Regions from separate parts of the Homo sapiens genome. Here region 2 is linked to region 1. The links are contacts of gene promoters, found by promoter capture Hi-C in blood cells and fetal thymus (Javierre and others, 2016). All regions are on one chromosome and are shown on one strand. The core of a region is centred on a gene start or on the middle of the fragment in contact, and the rest is flanking DNA. Distances in the headings are between cores, read along the strand shown. Region 1 holds the start of VASP (vasodilator stimulated phosphoprotein). Region 2 overlaps OPA3 (outer mitochondrial membrane lipid metabolism regulator OPA3).

What was found. Contacts are between HindIII fragments. The CHiCAGO score rates a contact against its expected background, and 5 or more counts as called.
Region 2: a contact is called between a fragment that was not itself captured here and the fragment with the promoter of VASP in region 1, in 10 of 17 cell types (naive CD4 T cells, naive CD8 T cells, total CD8 T cells and 7 more). The highest score is 12.1, in naive CD4 T cells.

Annotation. Positions count from the first base shown.
Region 1 is chr19:45,505,868-45,508,856 of GRCh38, forward strand. VASP (vasodilator stimulated phosphoprotein) reads left to right here and starts at 1,612. Exons shown (of 13, transcript NM_003370.4): 1 at 1,612-1,909. The coding sequence starts at 1,905. It overlaps LOC107985314 (a long non-coding RNA gene), which reads right to left and starts at 1,507. Exons shown (of 2, transcript XR_007067269.1): 1 at 818-1,507. RefSeq lists silencers at 673-922, 953-1,082, 1,763-1,942, 2,537-2,736 and enhancers at 1,277-2,061, 1,343-1,612. The HindIII fragment of the contact is 2,487 bases long and covers 377-2,863 here.
Region 2 is chr19:45,555,775-45,558,831 of GRCh38, forward strand. All of the region lies in intron 1 of OPA3 (outer mitochondrial membrane lipid metabolism regulator OPA3), which reads right to left. Among named protein-coding and RNA genes, the nearest start is that of OPA3, 27 kb to the right of the region's middle. RefSeq lists an enhancer at 2,255-2,755. The HindIII fragment of the contact is 1,184 bases long and covers 970-2,153 here.

The sequences.
Region 1 (2,989 bases), core at 362-2,861:
TCACCTGAGGTCATAAGTTTGAGACCAGCCTGGCCAACATGGTGAAATCCCATCTCTACTAAAAATACAAAAATTAGTTGGGCTTGGTGGCCCGTGCCTGTAATCCCAGCTACTTTAGGAGGGTGAGGCAGGAGAATTGCTTGAACCCAGGAGGGGGAGGTTGCAGTAAGCGGGGATCGAGCCAGCGCCCTCCAGCCTGGGTGACAGCGAGAGACTACATCTCAAAAAAAAAAAAAGAAAAAAAGAAATTTAGTCTACCCATTCTCCCAGACAACTCAGCCTGAGGAAACACACTGAGAAACAATGATAACCTCCGAGGAACAGGGTTCAAGGTCTCCCAGAGTGGGGTGGAGAAGGGGAGGGGAATTAATGTCAAAGCTTGGCCTGGAAGGATGACGTGCTCCCCAGGTAAAGGAGGTCAGGACAACATCAACATCCGGACATGGGACTCGGCTTGGACATACGCTGGAAAAGTGGATTCTCTCACATAGTCAGCTGGCCCTGAGAATTGTTGGTTTTACACTCAGACCTTGGTGGCTTTCCGGGTTCTGGGGGCTCAGGCAAGAGGGCCATAGGCCAGATTCATTCCCTGTCTCCAGGCCTCAGTTTACCCGTGTGTAAATGTGGAACTAACTGATTTCCCAGGGCTCGGGCGCCTCACCCGGGCCAGGTGGCGCTCTACCCAAGGGGCGCGACCAAATCAGTGACGTCACTCGGGGCGGGGCCGGCAAGACACGCTGCGGAAGCCTCAGAGGGTGTCTGGGCTCAGCCCGGAGCCGGCGTGTGGGGGCGGGGGCTCCCGGGAGGGTCTCCTCACCTCCGGGCCCTCCTGAGGGCTGGGATGATCCTGCTGTCCTCCGCAGGCGAAACTGAGTCAGAGCGGGGCGTGCGTGGGCCGGAGGCTTTACACACCAAAGAAGCCGGCGCCTCCTGCCCACCCCGGGCGAATGCCGGGCCCCCCACTCCCGCACTCCTCGCCAGTCCCCACCTCCACCCCACCCCACCCCCGACCCTGCGGCTGTGAGTCAGCGACCGACCGCGCCCCCTTGGCCCACTTCCTCCTCACCTTCCCGGGGCGGGCGGGGTGGGGTGAGAGGGGTTGGGCCCTACTCCCCCGACTTCCACTCCCGTGCGGGTGGGGGTCTCGCCCCCTTAGTAACCTCTCCGAAATTGACAGAAGAGAAACGCTGGGGAGGGGCGGTGTTCCGAAGATGGGATTTCAGGGAGAAAATCTGAGACCACTTGCTTAACTTGAGGGTCCTCCTCGACCCCCAAAATTGAGCGGAGTACGAGATGGAGAAGTCGATGGGGAAAGAAATCGCGCCCCTTCCGAGACCCTCCTCAGAATTCCCACAGTGGGAGCGAACTAGGAAGCAAGGGAGGTCCCCTTCCCCTTCACCAACTTGCCCCTCAGGTGGGGGTGATTCCCAGGGTGCACCCCTGGGCTACAACATTGGGGAGAGGAGCGAGATCGCGGAAGCCGAGGGTGCAGAGTTGCCCTTTTAAGCGCCCTCCACCCCCTCGCCTGGAGGCGCACGCGGCCCCTTTAAGGCGCGGGGCATTGTGGGTGCGGGGAGTGGAATTTTGGAACGAAATGTAACGAAGAGAAGTACAGTAGTAAGAGTAACACTGTAGCCGCCACCGGCAAGGGGTGCGCGCTGGGGAGCGGACGCTGCATCCCCTTTCTGCTGCAGGAACCTCTCATCAGACCGCCTGAGGGAAGCGGCGCCCGGAGACCCGCCCCGGCCCGGTCCACATTCTCCCCAGGAAGCCGGACTCTATGGGGCGGGACCCTGGGGGAGCCTGAGCCGAGCCCGGAGCCAGCCCCGAACCCCTGAACCTCCAGCCAGGGGCGCCCCGGGAGCAGCCAGCCCGTGGGCGAGCCGCCCGCCCGCCGAGCAGCCATGAGGTGAGCCGGACCTGCCCCCCGACCCGTCCCCGCCCGGGCGGGCTCCGCGCCCCGCCTTTGTCCCCCTCCCCCCCAGCTAGCTCCGGGCTGGAATTTGGGGACAGATCCTTGGGAGCCTCGGATTTGAGCTGAATCCCCTTGGACGCGCCCCAGAACCGTCGATCACTTCTCCACGACTGACTCCCCAAGCTCGGGGGGTGGTGGCGGTGAGGTTCTCCTGGGAGCCCTCAAGATTTGGGGGCGCTCGGAGGACTCCCGAATTGTTAAGACTTTTTTTAGAGGACCTCAAAGTTGGCAGCGACTCCCCGCAGGGATGCCAGGATTGAGGCAGGGCTCAGACTCTCCTCCCCCTCCCCCCAGACTTCAGCTCGAGGTCCGGGAAGGATTGTGGGGGACCGATTTGGGATACCCTGGGACTTGGAAGAGAGACTGAGACTCAGACCCTGGGTGTGCAGGTCCCCCGTTTACTTGGTGCTGGAAAAAGTCTCCCCAAGTGGGACCGCGCTCCATAACTTCGGGGGTACTTCTTAATCCCCTGGATTTTGGGGGTCACTTAGGTCTTCCTGTGGAGGAGGCTGGTGTGAACCGATCCAGGGACCTGGACGCAGCCTCCAGAGTCTGGTGGGACCCCCCCCTTCCCCGTCGCTCCGCACACAATCTGCTTAACTGGCCGTGCCTAGGACCGAGCGGGCGCTCGGAGCAGAGGGCGGCTCCCCGCCTCCGGCCATAAGGGCGGCCCGGCTCCCCCACCTGCGCGGCCCTGGAGAGGGAGGGGGCGCGGCAGCTGGGGGAAGGGGGCCTTTGTCTTCCTGACTCACCTGTCGAGACAGCTGGTGTGGGGGGCGGGCACCAAGCGCTGTAGGCCGGCTGCCTTCCCCACCACGGCCCCTCCCCCTTTGCTCACCGTCCCCCTATCCACCCGGAGCCTTGGGGTTGGAGGAGGGGGAGCTGGAAAGCTTCAAGGTCATAGCCCTCTTCCCTAGGGACCCAGGCTTCCCAGATAATTCCAGCTATCTTCCCAGGAATTTAATCCTGGGGGTGGCGGCCCAAGGGACCCAGGGATTTGGTCTGGCCGGGGCC
Region 2 (3,057 bases), core at 312-2,811, 50 kb after region 1:
GCCACCGTGCCTAGTCATTTTTGTATTTTTTTTAAAATAGAGATGGGGTTTATCAGTATGTTGCCTAGGCTGGTCTTGAACTCCTGGGCTCAAGTGATCTGGCTGCCTCGGCCTCCCAAAGTGCTGGGATTGCAATCGTGAGCCACTATGCCTGGCCTATATATATATATCTTTAAACCAGACATTGGTAGGCATCAAATCATTATTGTATGCGAACTGCAATAAATATGAAGGGAAGGATGCACCAGCTGTTTGAACATGTCAGTATCATAACACACCAGAACCAGAAATTCCATCCTTCACAACTACTTAAGGTTAATGAAGAAAAGTTTTACTTGTCAACTTGAAAATGCACTAGAGGGCACACAATTTATTTTTTCTTTTTCTGAGACAGGATCTCGTTCTGTTGCCCAGGCTGGAGTGCTGTGGAACAATCTCAGCTCACTGCAACCTCTGCCTCCCAGGCTCGAGTCATCTTCCCACCTCAGCCTCCTGAGTAGCTAGGACAACAGGTGCATGCCACCATGCCTGGCTAATTTTATTTTTTTTGGGTAGAGATGGGGTCTTGCCATATTCCATCTTATTTATTTATTTATTTAACAGATGGGCTCTCACTCTGTGGTCCAGGATGGAAGGCAGCGGCTCCATCACAGTTCACTGCAACCTCGAACACCTAGACTCAAGCAATTCTCCTGCCTCAGCCTCTGGAGCCGCTAGAACTATAGATGCCCCACCATGCCTGGCTGTTTTTAAATTGTTTTTTGGTAGAGACTGGGTCTTGCTATGTTGCCAAAGCAGGTCTTGAACTCCTGGGCTCAAGCAATCATCCTGCCTCAGCCTCCCAAAGTACTGGGACGACAGGAGACAGCCACTGAGCCCAGCCACTACACATTTTTCATCTTCAAAGGGGTGGGGTGGCAGGAAGGCTTGGGGAGCTCTGCTGGAGCTGGAGGGAAGACCTGAGGTGCAAGCTTAGGGCCCGAGAAGTCACTGTCACTGTCACTGTCAGCTGCTGCAGTTACTGTTACAGCTGTGACTTAGGCCCTGGGCTTGTGGGTTCCTGGGGTCCAGGCTGTGGAGACCCCTCCCACACTGAGGTCTTAGGGTCAGGCTGATCTGGGGTCCCCCCGGGGCTCCGCCACCTGCTGCCTGAGCAATGACAGCCTGCCCCAAGGCCCCTCTGTAACACAGGAAGGACAGCATCATCCTGACAATGACACTCGCCAGACCTGGTGGTGGCCCAGAGCTGGGCCCGTAACTGTCACTGCCTCCTTCATGTCAGGGACACCTAGCACAGTGGCCAGAGAGTGGTGAGGGGTGAGGGTTCCAGATCCTCTAGCCTTCCTGGGTGAGGTTCCCAGCGTGGAAATGCAAGTGTCTCAGTGCAGACCAAGCATGGGGATCTGGGCCAGCAGGTGGGTCTAGGTGTGCCAATGGGAGTGGGCACATACCCAGGCCACAGGAAATCAAATCAAGAGGGTGTGTGTGTGTGTGCACGCGTGTGTGCACGCAGGCATGGGCTTTCAGGGCTTTCAGAGCAGGGGCCGACGGCATTCTCCCTCGGGCCAGCGGTCAGATGTGGGGTTCAGGAAACAAGGCCCAGGTGGGGATGAATCACAGGGCTGTGATTCTAGAAGGGACAGCTGTGAGGGGCCGGGACAGGCTAAGCTGGAGGACTCACCAGACTTGCGGGGGTCAACACGCTCCAGATGTCTCCTAGACCTCTCACACTCAGCACATCCAAACCTGAACCCAGCACCTGGCCCCACACCTGTCCCCTGGCTAGAGACGGGGGCCTCAGCCCAGCTGTTCCCCTTCTCCCACAGCCTCTCAGCTGCGTGTCGGGTCCATTCTGCATCTTGAACATCTCTCCCAGTGGATTCCCTTCTGCTGTCCTGGTCCAGGATCCATCCCAGCTCTGACCAACGTTCTCCTCCCTGACCTCCTGAATAGGAGGAATACAGCCTGTCTATCCCCTTCTGAGTGCCTATCACAACCAGGAATAGTGGCTATCCAGTTACCTGTCTGCAATCAGTCTCCCCACTGTCCTGTAAGCCTCACAAGGGTGGGGCCCAGGGCTGTCACAGTCACTGCTGTGTCCCCAGCACTGCCCAGTGCCAGGCCAGGCACACGCATGATGCTCATTAGATCTAAGCTTAACACATAAGTGAGTCCCGCCTCCAGCCTCCTTCCCACCTGCCGGCCCCAGCCTCACCCCTCTGCAATTGTCCCCCACGCAGCAATCAGAAGGAATTGGTGAGAAGAAAAGAACAAACTGGCTGGGCGCGGTAGCTCAGGCCTTTAATCCCAGCGCTTTGGGAGGCTGAGACAGGCAGATCATGAGGTAAGGAGTTCAAGACCAGCCTGGCCAACATGGTGAAACCCATCTCCAGTAAAAATACAAAAAATTAGCGGGGCGTGGTGGGAGGCCCCTGTAATCCCACCTACTCGGGAGGCTGAGACAGGAGAATCGCTTGAACCCAGGAGGTGGAGGTTGCCGTGAGCCAAGACCACGCCACTGCACTCCAGCCTGGGCAACAAGAGCAAGACTGTCTCAAAAAAAGAAAAGAAAAGAACAAACCTACCATTCCCCGTCGCCCCACCCCCAACTCCTGCCGCAAATAAAAGTAACACATGGCAAGAAAACAAAGTACTCAAACTATAAAATGTAAAGCCAAAGTCCCCTCCTCAGAGGAACCCTCAACTACTGCGGTCGCCAGCCTGTTTTCCCCTAGCGCCATCTCCTGGACAGCCCATAGTAAGCATACCTCACTCATTTCTGAGCTCTTCAACTGGAGGTTTGTTCAGATCTACGCCATCGTTACCTACTCATAATCCAGCCCCACTATGAAAGGTGAGCACTCTGCCCCCATGCGGCCTGCCCTTTCTCCGCTCCCCCATTTCTACAGGGGATTTGTATGCAGTTTTTATTATTCTATGTTCTGCTGTTTTTTTTTTTTATTTTTTTTAGACGGAGTCTCGCTTTGTCCCCAAGGCTGGAGTGCAGTGGCATGATCTCCGCTCTGCAATGCAGTGGCCATGGAAACACTCTCCAGT